Regions from separate parts of the Homo sapiens genome. Here region 1 is linked to region 2. The links are contacts of gene promoters, found by promoter capture Hi-C in blood cells and fetal thymus (Javierre and others, 2016). All regions are on one chromosome and are shown on one strand. Each heading gives the region's core, a stretch centred on a gene start or on the middle of the fragment in contact. The rest is flanking DNA. Distances are from core to core; before and after follow the strand shown.

Region 1 (7,061 bases), core at 4,338-6,837, 460 kb after region 2:
CTAATTTTGCTCAACTTCTAAGACATAGCATCTTTGCAACTCATATGGAGTGCTTTGTATATTCAGTAATGTTTCTTCACTCTGGCCAAAGAGTGCTAAAATGAATCCTGGCCCCGTAGGAGTTCTGGGAATTGTTTGTTTTATAGCACTCCAGCATTTTTTCTTTCTTTGGAGATTGTTTTTTTCTCAGTCTTACAGGGTTTCACACTACTCACATACGGATTGGTGTTTAGCCAAGGACTCAAAGACTGATTTCTGGAACCATTTTCCTGTGTAGCTTATTTTTCCCTCTAATCTCCGCATCCTTCACTGAGCAAGATTTCCAGGTCTGTTTAAATTCTCTCTTTGTGCTACAATCTGGATATTGCCTCCTGGCAGAAAATCTGGGTGATTGTAAGAATCACCTCATTATTTTTCCTTCTCACAGTAATCACAGTTTTGTGCTGTTTTTTTCATATCTGAAAACAATGTTTTTAAACTGTTTTCCAGTCTTCTAGTTGCTTGTGGTAGCTGGGTAATTCTGTCCTGTTACTTCTTCACGTCTGGGAGTAGAAGGCCTGTATTATTTTTCAAAATCGATTATTCTATATTCTTAGAGAGTTCTTTTACTTTATCTTTCAACCATCTTACTGATTTTTTAAAAAAGATTTCAGCAATAAGAACGTCCTGTTTAGCCGGGCGCGGTAGCTCATGCCTGTAATCCCAGCGCTTTGGGAGGCTGAGGTGGGTGGATCACGAGGTCAGGAGATCGAGACCATCCTGGCCAACACGGTGAAACCCTGTCTCTACTAAAAATACAAAAAATTAGCCGGGTGCAGTGGCGGGCGCCTGTAGTCCCAGCTACTCAGGAGGCTGAGGCAGGAGAATGGCGTGAACTCGGGAGGCGGAGCTTGCAGTGAGCTGAGATCTAGCCACTGCACTCTAGCCTGGGTGACAGAGTGAGAGTCTGTCTCAAAAAAAAAAAAAAAAAAAAGTAAAAGAAATACCCAAGACCAACTCTTGCCTCTTCTACCTTCTGGTAGTATGGTCTTTCTCAGAATAATTAAAAGCACCATGTTATAGTATCACCCCTCTTCTCTTATTCTTGACTGCTCTTTTAGTCTCTTGAGAATTGCTTTCTCCAGTTGTTTATGGGATACAGTCTGCAGAGCAATGTCTCAGCTGCCTCAAAAAGCAGAAGTCCAAAGCAGAAGGACAAGTGTTATGTTCTTTGATTAGTAATATCCTTGGGTTTCTGTGAATTATTTGGATATTAGGAAAAAGTCCTCTCAGGATATAGTAATTCACTGGATGATTATATTTTAAACATTTTTACAAGTGTTTATCTTTCTTGGTGTTATCACATAGGTTGTATTAGAGTTAAGATCTTTCTGGGGGATCAGATGCCATTTTAACTAAAAGTCAGAGCATGAATTTTTTTTAAGATTATTTTTGAGTCAGGGTCTAGCTATGCAGCCCTGGCTCAAGCTCAGTGGCATGACCGCAGCTGACTGTAGTTTGAACTCCCGAGTCAGGCAGTCCCCCTTCTCAGTCTCCTGAGTAGCTGGGACTGCAAGTGCACTACCACACCCGGCTAATTTTTTTTTTTTAACTAAGTCTCGCTCTGTCGTCAGGCTGGAGTGCAATGGCGCAATCTCAGGTCACTGCAATCTCTGCCTCCTGGGTTCAAGTCATTCTCATGCCTCAGCCTCTTGAGGAGCTGGGACCACAGGCATGTGCCACCACACCCAGCTAATTTTTGTATTTTTAGTAAAGACAGGGTTTCACCATGTTGGCCAGGATGGTCTCGATCTCTTGACCTCATAATCCATCCACCATAGCCACCCAGCAGGCTAATTTTAAAAATTTTTATTTTTAGAGACAGGGTCTTGCTATGGCGCTATGGTGTTCAAGCTAGTCTAAGGCTTTTGATAAGTATAATTAAAGTATCCACTGTCAATATTTTCTTTGTGAATTAAATAGCTTAATATAGTTTATTATTTTAGTTTGTATTTCTTTGTTGCTGAGACTAAATATTTTTTCATATGCTAAATGTTATAGAACAAGTTCTACCTTTGTATTTATTTTACTTCTCCATTTTTCTGTTTGCATGTTCTCCATTTTCCTATTGATTGGTAAGTGCCCTTTAAATTAACGTATAGTGAAATTGACTTTTTGGGGTGTATTAGTTCATTTTCATGCTGCTGATAAAGACATACCCGAGACTGGGAAGAAAAAGAGGTTTAATTGGACCTACAGTTCCACATGGCTGGGGAAGCCTCAGAATCATGGCAGGAGGCGAAAGGCACTTCTTACATGGCAGCAGCAAAAAATGAGGAAGAAGTAAAAGCAGAAACCCCTGATAAACCCATCAGATCTTGTGAGACTTATTAACTACCATGAGAATAGCATGAGAAAGACCAGCCACAATCAACAGAACTGAAATAGTAAGTATTGGTGAGGCTGTGAAGAAATTGGAATCCTTGTTCATTGCTGGTTCTTCGCTGGTGGGAATGTAAAATGGTTCAGCTGTGGTGGAGAACAGTTTGGCAGTTTCTTAAAAAAGTTGAACTTACAATTATCATATGACCCAGTGCTTCCACTCCTGGGTAAATATTCAAAAGAATTGAAAACAGGTATTCAAACAAAAATTTGTACATGAATGTTCATAGTAGCACTATTCACAATAGCAAAAAGGTAGAAACAATTCAAATGTCCGCTATCTGATGATCGAATAAACAAATGTGTTATATCCACACAATGGAATATTATTCAACTATAAAAAGAAGCGAAGCACTACTACATACTACAATATGGAAAGACCTTAAAAACATTATGCTAAGTGAGAAGTTAGACACAAAAGGCCACATACTGCATGATTCCCTTTATATGAAATGTCCCAAACTGGCAAATCCATAGAGACAGAAACCAGGTTAGTGGTGGTCAGGACTGCTTACTGAGTGTGGGGTATCCTTTTGGGGTGTTGAACGTGTTTTGGGGCAGATAGAGATGAGGTTGCACAACACTGTGGATTCATTGACTAGATGTCAATGAATTATCTGCTTTAAAATGGCAAAAACTGTGAATCATGTGATATGTGAGCCTTACCTCAATTAAAAAGTTTTAATAGCAGTTTTAAAGGGTGCTCTTCATTTCCTGTTTTTCAGCCCTTTAGCTTTGTTGCAACAGATTGAGTAAAAGTTTGAACTGTTTTCAGTTTATGTTTTTTCGTTGTTGTTGTTTCTTTGCTTGTTTTGGTTTGTTTGTTTTCTTTTGTGGTCAAGACAAACCAGAGATTCATAATATTTAGTTAAGGAGATGTTTTAGTCTGATTTTTAAAAGATTATTTTAAACATTTTTCAGAATAAAATCATCATGGCTTTGCTTTATGATCTAGGATTTTAGAGCTCAAAAATTTGTGTATTAAAAGAGTGGAACAAAACTATCCCCAATGAGGAAGCCGGATTCTTTCTTTGCTGAATCCCATGGCTCACTCTAATCGTGCATAGCATGGTCTCCCAGTCAGGATGAGCTCTGAGCACAGCCCTCAATGTTCACAAGAGGATATTCTTAGACCTGATTGCATACAAGATGTTTGTTTGAGGTCCCGCATATCTGACTTTCTGGCCAGCAATTTGCCACCACTGCAAATTTGAAAGGGAAACAAGCAGAGGGACGCTCATGTGACTGGCACACAGCCCAGTCACACTCATCAGAGCTGAGAGATCATTACTGTGACTTTGGCTCCAAACCCATGGGTGAATCCCCCACCCTAGTGAGCTGGGCTGGACCATGTGTGAGTTACTAGGGTGGCCTTTGCACCTCTTACCTAAGGCCTGTTTGATCCTATGGGCACAGCGAATTTTGTAACTTAAAGCTTTTTTCCCTCCTTTTCTCACTTACTACAGAAACATATATTTAAATATTTTTACCAAGAAATAGACTTTCTTGGAATACATTTTGTGCACTGCCCTGACTTCTAATTTAATCTTTCTTCCTAATTCATATACACTGGTATATCTTTTCTCCTCCCTCCCCCTTTCTTTCATTTAAGAAAATGAATATATTTCATTTCACTTTCTGTAGGGTGCATGTATTTTTAAGTTGTTGTAATTCACATTGGGAATAAGGCATGGGCCAAAGATAAAGTCCGGATAAAATCCATTTTTCTATTACCTCAAAAGAGAGTAGTACAAATTGTGGTCCTCCCACCTGTTCCCTTACACACACACATACACATGCACACACACACAGATGCACACACATACACACACATGCGTACACACGTTATACTGGAGAGCACAGTCCAATGCCCACTGTTTTCAGAGTGAGGCCTTCTTGTTACTCAAACCACTCTCTAATGTTTTAATTCAGAGCTCCTCATCAGAGCTCGACTCAGAGCTGCCTTCACATCCTTGTTCCGCAGACTGTAGATGAAAGGATTCAACATGGGGGTCACCACAGCATAAGAGAGTACCATCACCTTTTCCTGCTCAGCTGAGGCCATGGAGCGAGGCTGCATGTAGGTAAAGAGGGCCATCCCATAGGATATGGAGACCACAGTGAGGTGGGAGGCACAGGTCCCAAAGGCCTTGCGGTGCCCCTGGGTGGAGTGGATCTGCAGGACGGCAACTACAATGAGGGTGTAGGACAGCGAGACCAGGCAGCAGGGCACCAGCAGCACCACCACACTGGAGGCCACTATGACCACCTGATTGAAGGTGATGTCCACGCAGGCCGACCTGACCAGTGCCAGTGTCTCACAGGCCACATGGTTCAGCACGTTGTGCCCACAGGTGGGCAGGTGCATGGTCAGTGCCGTCTCCATAGCAGAATTAGCCAGGCCCACTAGCCAAGAGACAGCTGCCAGTGCCATGCAGAGCCTTGGGCTCATCACTGCTATGTAACACAGGGGGTCGCAAACAGCCACGTAGCGGTCATAGGCCATTGCGGCCAGCAACAAAAACTCGGTCCCTCCGAGGGCCAGGGAGAAAAAGAGCTGGGTCCCACATCGGGCAAAGGAGATGGTCTTTCTTTGCTGGTGCAGTGCACCAGCATCTGAGGGACCCTGCTGGAGGTGTAGCAGATGTCCACAAGTGAGAGGTTGCAGAGGAAGAAATACATGGGCAGGTGGAGTCTCACGTCCAGCCAGATCAGGAGCAGGATGAGCCCATTGCCCAGCAGGGTCAGCAGGTAGGCAGCCCCAAATAAGATAAAGAGTCCAGCCTGGGTCTGCCTGTCACTGGAGAGACCCATTAGGATGAACTCACTCACCCAGGTTATGTTGTCCCTTCCCAGTTGGGACATTGAACCTCACTTCTTCAATCTAGGTGGTTAGGAGGGAATGCAAAGGTCTTGGAGAAAAGGACATTTGGTTTCTGACACTAAACCAAATTCTGAGAGGTTCTGAAGGACAAAGTCCCTGTTTTGGCCATCCTTTCACGTCGAGGACCGATCACAGTTACAGTTGTGTAGGAGGTAATCTATCAATGTAGAAGGAATGATAGAGAAGAAAGGATGAAAGAAGCAAAGAAAAACTAAGGAAAGACAATAGGAAAATGGAAAAGGAGGGAAGGAATGTGGAAGATATGAAAGAAAGGAAGGATTCTTCACTGTGGGGAAGCAGTGGGTAAAGTATTGTAATCAGACACTTGAGAACTGTAGGCATGTCCTAGGATTTCTCAGCTCATTTCTTAACTCTGGATTGAGCTGCTCTTCCTGCTTCTTCTAGGGTCCACTAAGTCCAGACAGGAATCCTCTCACATCCTTTTCATTTCTCCCACAAGTCCAGATAAAGCTGAAGTCCTTGAAACCAATATCTACTAATCCCCTGCTGGTGTGCCAGGGTCTGTGCCAGGCATTGGTTACCTGCTGGTAAGTAAGAAAGATAGAAACACGGGCCCTTGCTTTCTTGATTCTTATAATTTATCTAGGGACACAGAGATTACATCAATAATTACAAATAATTAATTAAGTATAATTGTGCTAAGTGCTATGAAGGAGAAGAACAAGGTTAGTATTTGGCTAATTAAATTTGGAGCTTTGTAATTAAATTATGACAGTAGTTATGCCTTACTCCTTAATAACATGCAATTTATATAGTGAGTTTCAGGCATTTATTTAGATGTTTAAACAAATGATTAACAAAGTAATGTTGTGATGCAAGCGTTCGAAAACCAATGATACTCATGTATTACTACTGAGTATGAGGTGATAGAAACCCACAGAATCTTTTCAAACAGAGTGAATTCTCCCTTGTCAGCCAAGGTTGTACCAGTTCATCTCCCTTCTACCATGCTGACTGGTCCTCTTGAAAAATAAAATTAAGTGCCATCACTTTTTCTTAATATAAATATAATCTCCAGATGTATTTCCTGCTCTTAAAAAATTTAATTAACAAACTGATTCATTTATTAAAACATTATTGAGTATATCAGGCACTATGCTTTCAACCAACCTCTAGGAAATTCCACCTTTCAATGTTAGGGATTTGTGTTTAGAAAATCAGCAGTGCCAGAGGATCAAATAATAAATTTTTAAAAATGGATTTTGGTCAAATCTGAGAATCTAATGAGAGCATGTTTGTGCAAGCCACTACAGCCAGAGGACAAATGCCATACATCTGCATTAAGAAAATGAGAGCAGAACCACAGAATAAAATGCAAGAAAGCTGAAATGCATAATTCAATTTATGTTTCTTCTGGCTGGAAACATTGGTGGAGGGAGAGAGCAGAGAGGACCTGGATGGAGCTGGCATCTTGTCTCCATTCAGCCCTGGTCCTGCAGTGGCCAGAAGGTGTCACTGTAGAAACTGCTAAGAATAGAAACTGGCCTTGGGTTCTCAAGGTTGGAGATCAGGTTCTAGGGTCAGAGCCAGGGGCTGGAATTTTGACTGCTGCCCTAGGGAGATGGTTCCCTTGTATCAGCAGAAGTAGATCAATGCTGATCTACTATGATCAGTATGCTGCTTGTTACTATAGACAGAATCTTCACCTTCAGAGTTGGCCTCAAGGATTGAGATACCCTCCAGAAGGTAACCACAACTGTTTAAAATGAAAAGAAATATAGGGGCTAAGTGTTTC
Region 2 (7,078 bases), core at 1,162-3,661:
TTTAAATTCTCTGAGCTTCTATTGTCTCATCTCTTAAAGGATACTTCTCTGGATTAATGAATTAGAAAAAAGGTATTCTTTCTGGTCAGAACAGATCCTCATTTACTGGGCTTGGAAACCATGGGCACCTTTGTTTAAGCAAAAGTCTCCCCTTTCTCCAGCCAATGCAGTGCCACCAGAGTCCATTGGTTGGCTTGCAGAGCATGGGCTGGCTGAATTTAAAGCTCATTCCCCACCTTGTCTGGTACTTTAATGCAATGCAAACTACCCAAACATACATGACGGTTATCACTCCTCACAGGACAAGACAACCTGGCATCCTCACACAGTACTCTTCAAAATTCTCAGTAGCCTCATCATCCCACTGCTGAACAGCTCAATTTTCTCACTTACTTTAGGGCTGGTAGAATCTGCTGATTGTTGTTGTTTAGGTAAACTTCTTCCTTATAAGGACTTCTTCCAATATTATGTGAAATTCCAACAGTTACACTACCAAACAGCCAATCCCTATAATTTCTAGAAAGCCGGGAGTCAAAAGAATGGCCTCTTATTTTTAAAAAATTCTGCCCACAGAGAAGATACACATGATGGTACTGAGACTGTTGGATTTGAGAGACGGAGAATCAAAAGACATTATAAAGTTTGAAGTCTAGATCTGGATACAGTCTGAACAGACATAGTTGTGTTTAACAGCCATAAAATACAGGATGCTCTCTAGAATTAGTCATTTAGTTCTTATTTGCCCCTGTCCCTATACTCACCACAAAGAAGGGCAGTGAAAGGAATATGCTGAAGCTTAACAAAAATAAATTTTCCTCCATTTTTATCCTCAAATATTTTTATCTTCTTTACACCACAAATATCTCCTGAATGAGAAGCATTCCAATCCTCATATCGCCATTCTAGACTGGTTCTGTGACAAAACGTAAACAGTGTTACACTTCCTTTCCAGTATCAATGGGGCAGAGAGAAAGAGCTTTAGGATATCTAAAATGCATATGGCCATCTTGCCAAAAAATTGCACAAAAATATAGGGAAGAACTTAGCAACAGGTGATGAAGGACCAAAGTGAGCATCTCTACCTTTCTACTCTGATTAGGACACCTTTCTCAGTACACCTCCCTCCACACTTCCTCCCTTCCCCAGAAAATACATTTTCAGAGATGGACTATGAGGAAATGAGTTGGGCTAATAGAATTCTTACAAAAATGTCTGCATTTCCTTTCTCTAGTCCCCCCCAAATCACAAGAATATGTTCAACAGTGGAAACAGGCAGGAACTAAGGCTATGAGAGTCTCCTGGACAGACAATGGATTTCATTATTACCAGCCTAATCTACTTCCATGGTGTGATGGCGAATTGTACACACTCTTTGACTTTTGTAATGAGAGGATAAGAGAAAAGAGGAGTTAGAATTTTCTAGGTGACTTAATAATTAACCCTGAGGCTTGGACCACCTAAAACTGACTTACAGAACAGCTAATCTTTCAGGAGTTGACAGCAGCGTTTCATCCCATCTCGGAGGGCCTCTTTGACTTTGTCATTCCGAAGAGTAAAGATGAAAGGATTCAGGAAGGGGGTTAACACAGAAACCAACAGGGAAACTATCTTATTGTACTCAACTCCCTGTGTTTGCTTGGGTTTCACGTAGAGAAACAAGCAGCTGCCATAGCCAATCACAACACAGGTGAAGTGGGAGGCAAAAGTGGAGAAGGCTTTCCTCCGGCCAGAGGCTGACGGGATCTTGAGGATGGTGGAGATAATGTAGGTGTAGGAGACAATCGTAGGGATCAAAGAACCAATGAGAATAAAAACAGCCATTAAGAAAAGGATAAACTCTGTGAGAAGAGTGTTATCGCAGGACAGTTTGAGCAATTGCCCTCGGTCACAGTAAAAATGGTCTAATGAATTTGATTTGCGGAAGGTAAACTGAAATGTGGCATAGATGGGCCAGATTTCAGAAAGAAATCCAAACACCCATGACACTATTACCACCCAAATACAGGTACTGCTGTTCATAATGATGTTGTACCTCAAAGGGTTACACACAGCCACATAACGGTCCACAGCCATCACTCCAAGTAATGCAAACTCCATGGTCCCACAGGAAAAGTTGAGCGATACATGTAGAGAAAGATACTGTCTGCATCCCAGGAAGAGCAATCCCCAAAGCATCATGGGGACAATTATGGTTGTGACCAGGATCTCCAGGGTAGAGAGGTGGCTGAGGAAGAAATACATGGGGGACTGCAGACGTTTATCCACACAGACAATCACAATGATGACCGTGTTTCCCATTAATGTCACTAAATAGAAGAAAAAGAATATAGCAAAAAGAATGTGGTGTAGTCCTTGGGACCCAGGGAAGCCTAGAAGGTGGAATTCAGTGGCACTAGAGTGGTTGTCCATCATTTAGTCCTTGATTCTGCTTGTTTTGAAGCCCAGAGATTAAAAGAGAGGTGGCATTGCTCCACATGGTCCTGCTCTCAAGAGAGAAGGAAGAAAAATTAGGTTAAGAAACTATTTCCAACCTGAGAATCAGGTGACATGTCCCTGCTACTGTGGTCGGCACATACATAGCTTGAGGTACATGTTGTCATCCCAAGTCTACAAGTGAGGCTCTCACTTCCCTGTGTAACCAGCCCCCTAGAATGGGTGAAGACATCTTCTTCTACTGGTGGTGAAATACCTTCCTTGCCTTTTTCCCCATTAAATATACCTTCTCTCGGGGGCAGAGGCTAAGACCTTTTAAATAGGCCAGTTTTAAAGGTGAGTCAATCAGGTCCCTCCGGTCCTGGAGTTACTTTCTCTTAGGTTAACTGTGCAAGATGACACAAAGGCATTTTATATGATGTTCAAAGGACAGAATTTTAAACCCCAGCTCTCATCTGTAATGGTAATGCATAGACCCACCTTTGGGGCCAGCAGAAAGGAGGCAGAGGATGTAAGACTAACATCTCTGCTGTTCCAGATTTTAAAATCTCCATTTTACAGAACAGCAAGATCTCTAAATGAGAACTCTAGAGCTTGGGATAATTTCCCAGAACAGATCCATTCTTCTCTAATTCCATTTTCCTTCCAAAGTTGTGGGAGGAAGGAAAGATGGCACCTGGCACAGAAAAGGAATAGATCTGGGACCGCCAGCTGTTAAGGATGCCTGGCTCTCTGCCTGTCGCTTCATTCCATTATTCAAATGTCACCCTTTCCAAAGACTCTTTCCAATCACTCTGCCCAAAACAGAAAAGACACACTTATTATTGGACTTCCATTTTTTTAATAACAGTTGTTATTACCTTGTATTATGTCTAATTATTTACTTCATTCCTTTATTTAACAATAAACAAATGTAGTCATGAACAGAACAAAGAAAATTCCATGCCCTGTGGAGCTTATATTCAAGGAAGAGGTGGGGGCTAGACCACACACAAGACACCTAAGTAAAATATGCAATAGTTTAGTTTGCTTATCATGTCACAGGGAAAAAAATAAGCAAGAAAGAAGGAGAGGAAATTTAAGTGTATTTATTATTTATCAACGGCATTAGAATATAAACTCCATGAGGGCTAGGACATGTCTTCACTGTTGTATTCTGAGGCTGGCACATAAAATGTACATACATAAATTAAGTAGTTATATATTTTATATATATATATCATATATCTTTTATATAGATATAGACAGATACATTATGTGAAATGAATATATCATAGATATATCTTATATATTAAATTATGTATTAATTTATCACAAGGTAACCGAACTAATAGCTGTGTGAGTCAAGATTTGAACCTAGGTCTGTCAGATTTCATCACTCACACAGCTAACTACCACACCTTATATTATATTATTATCTTATATTATTTATCTTATTTATATAAGATATATGAAATAAGATATATGAAATATATCTTATATTATATAAAATATACATATATTTTTTATTTATAAGATATTTAAATACATAAGATATATGTATCATATACATAAAATAAGTAGTGCTGACAAATTTTGCTAGATGAGGTATGGATGGATGGATGGATAATATATGATTAAATAATACTTGTTCTGGCCAGGGCCTGGGCCACATTCCCTCAATCCTATTCTGGTTGGTTTTCCTTCCTGCCTCACATTACCATTTTCCCTCCTGCCCTTCCCTTGCTTAGGTAACCCCTTCCCTGTCTACGTCACTGTTTTACTAATGGTTTAAAAAGCTTCAGGGACAGAATTGATGGGAAAGCTCAGTGTTCTGGTTTTCCACAACCTCTGCATAACCAGCACGAGATGAAGAAACATGAGCGAGAAGGACACCGACTGTCAGGGAGCCGTGACTGTGTTAGCATTGGGTCCAAGAGGAGCCGGAAGTGCTCTCTGCTATGCAGGAAGGGTCTGGAGATGAGCCTATACACTCTACTGCTCCCCTAGCCCACACTTCAATATCTGGGTGACTTTGTTCTAGAAGATAGGCAGGCCCAGGATGTCCCATCCTAAAATGCTTTTACCCTCTTCTTCATAGAGGAGACCCCTTGGAAAGACACTCACCTTTACAGAGGGGCTTCGCCGCCTCTTCTGATGTTCTCTAGGGCTCCGCTGAGGCTACCTCCTGTCCTGCTAGTGCTGAGCCATGCACAGGGGCCAGAACAAGTTGCTGCAATCCCCACTCATGGCGAAGAAGGGAAATGTCCTCCCAGAGGAGCTTAGGAAAAAGCCCAGAAATGAGTGTTGGGCAAAGTTGAGGGTCCTCTCTCTCTCCCCTCTCCTCCCTCTTCCCTTCTTCCCAAGGGTACTTAATCACCGAGTTACTACTTCTTAATTAGCCCACGTTCAGGGAGTCCCCAGGCAATCAGTCTAGTGGGAGCAGAACAAACTTTAAGTTATTCCCATTTTTTGACCAATTAAGTTTTAGAACTTTTGAAAGTTTTTGTTTGACGGGAAAACCTGAAATCTTACCAATCAGGGACTTCTTAATACTGGGGCTGCCTTCCTGAAAACCTCAGGTCTAGGTTTCCAGATGTCTCAGATTCTAAACAGTCAACTACCTCTGTCGTTTATCTTAGGCTTTTCTCAAGTTTCTCTAGTTATTCGGAGCCTAAATCAACCCTTTTCCCCCAGTAGGAGACACCACAATTGGCCTCTAAAACATGCACCAATATCCCAAAAAAGTCTGCATATTGGTCTTGGTCAAAGCCTTAACTTCACCAAATATCTTCTAAAAAGCCTGATGACTCCTTCATTCATTTTAAAAAGGCTCCTGCGTTTAGTCCTGTGGACCCTACAGAATACTGTAAGAGGTCCCTCCCCTAAATCGAACTCTATTCTGTTCTATTGTCTCAGGTTTTCACTCCTCTTGATATATGTGCATCTGTATGCATTCCAGCAAGATTCTTCCAGACTTTTTTTTTTCCTATGGCATGTCCCTGATTACCAGCTGGACCACTGCAAAGTAGAGAGAGCATAAGGACAGCTTATGTACACAGTTCTGTTTGCAACCTGGAGGAACTGACAAAATGTAAGTTGGAAATCTGTCTAATGCTGGAGTAAGACAGAAAAAGTAGGAATTACAAAACATTTGTCTGCATTTTTGTTTTCATTTTAAGTATTTTAAGTACACCTGTTAAATCTGAGAATTTCAATTGGTGCCTAAGGGTATAAATTGGGATTAATCTTTCTTCCAATTCCTTAAATTGCCCAAGCCCAAATACTTGCCATATAATTTTAGAGAAATTTTCCAAGCATGTATCTCCATATTCTTTTTCGTAAAGGCTGTGAAAATCTGTTTGCAACCTTTTCTTTCTCATTTAACAACATATAAAATATATCTTTCCATGTCAGCACATATTACTCTACCTCTTTTTTTTTTAACATAGGATTCCATTATGTGGATGTCCTATTCTTTATTAGATAGACATTTATTAATTAATTTTCATTGTTGTTTCCATTTTTAATTATGAAAAAATGATGCTATAAATATTCTTAGATATTTGTAAGTACATAAACATGTACTTGTAAGTAAAGTAAGTACGTATACATGTAAGTACATAAACAATTATATTTCTGAAAAAGAAAAAAAAGATTCCCTAGAGTTGGAATGTCTGGGTCAAATGCAGATGTATTGAAGCTATTACTTTTTATTGGCACCAAATTACACTCCAAACATTTTGTATTGATTCACACAATTACTAAGACTGTGTAATAGAAGGGGTCTTGTTTTCCTGACCTGTTATAAGCCAAAGGCATAATTAAAATTTTAATTTTAAGTTGAAGAGAATAAAAACAAGACACCTTAAAAGGGAAATCAATTAACAAGCCTGATGAAATGGAAAATTTTTGAAAGATAAAAATGACCAAAACCAACTCAAAAACAAATATGGATATAGAATCAACTTGAGTATCCATCAATGGATGAGTGAACACAGAAAATGTGGTGTATATATACAATGGAATAGAATTCAGCCATTAAAAGGAATGAAATCTTGTCATTTGTGGCAAAATGGAGAAAACTGGAGGGCATTCCATTAAGTGAAATAAGCCAGGCACATAAAGACAAATACCACATGTTCTCACTCATATGTGGAAACTAAAACAGTTGATCTCATAGAAGTACAGAATAAAATAATGGTTAACAGAAGCTAGAAAGGATATAGGGGAGGGGAAGACAGGAAGAGTTTGGTTAGTGGTTACAAAATTTCAGTTAAATAGAAGAAATAAGTTCCAGTGTTCTGTGGCATAGTAGGGTGACAAGTTTAATGACTATCTATTGTGTATTTCAAAATAGCTAGAAGAGAGGAATTTGAATTTCCCCAACACAAAGAAATGATGAACGTTTGAGGTTATAGATATCCCACTTACCCTGATTTGGTCACTACATGTTGTATACATATATCAAAATATCACATGTACCCCCAACATGTGTACAATTATTATGTACCATTAAAACTTTAAAAGTAAAATAAATGGCCACAGATGTTGTACAAAATTTAATCTTAATAGAGTTGAAAATATTTTGTAAAAAATAAATCCAAACAAGGGGCCAAGATGGCTGAATAAGAAAAGCTCTGGTCTGCAGCTCCCAGTAAGACCA

What was found. Contacts are between HindIII fragments. The CHiCAGO score rates a contact against its expected background, and 5 or more counts as called.
Region 1: a fragment that was not itself captured here is called in contact with the fragment with the promoter of OR9A2 in region 2 in 1 of 17 cell types (neutrophils); the score reaches 5.1 in neutrophils.

Annotation. Positions count from the first base shown.
Region 1 is chr7:143,484,126-143,491,186 of GRCh38, forward strand. The region is part of intron 2 of EPHA1-AS1 (EPHA1 antisense RNA 1); the gene reads left to right. It also overlaps the pseudogene OR2R1P. Among named protein-coding and RNA genes, the nearest start is that of TAS2R41, 9.8 kb to the left of the region's middle. The HindIII fragment of the contact is 3,467 bases long and covers 3,855-7,061 here.
Region 2 is chr7:143,024,721-143,031,798 of GRCh38, forward strand. It overlaps OR9A2 (olfactory receptor family 9 subfamily A member 2), which reads right to left and starts at 2,412. Exons shown (of 1, transcript NM_001001658.1): 1 at 1,480-2,412. The coding sequence starts at 2,412. The coding sequence ends at 1,480. It overlaps LOC105375544 (a long non-coding RNA gene), which reads right to left. Exons shown (of 2, transcript XR_001745395.1): 2 at 4,540-7,078. The HindIII fragment of the contact is 3,416 bases long and covers 794-4,209 here.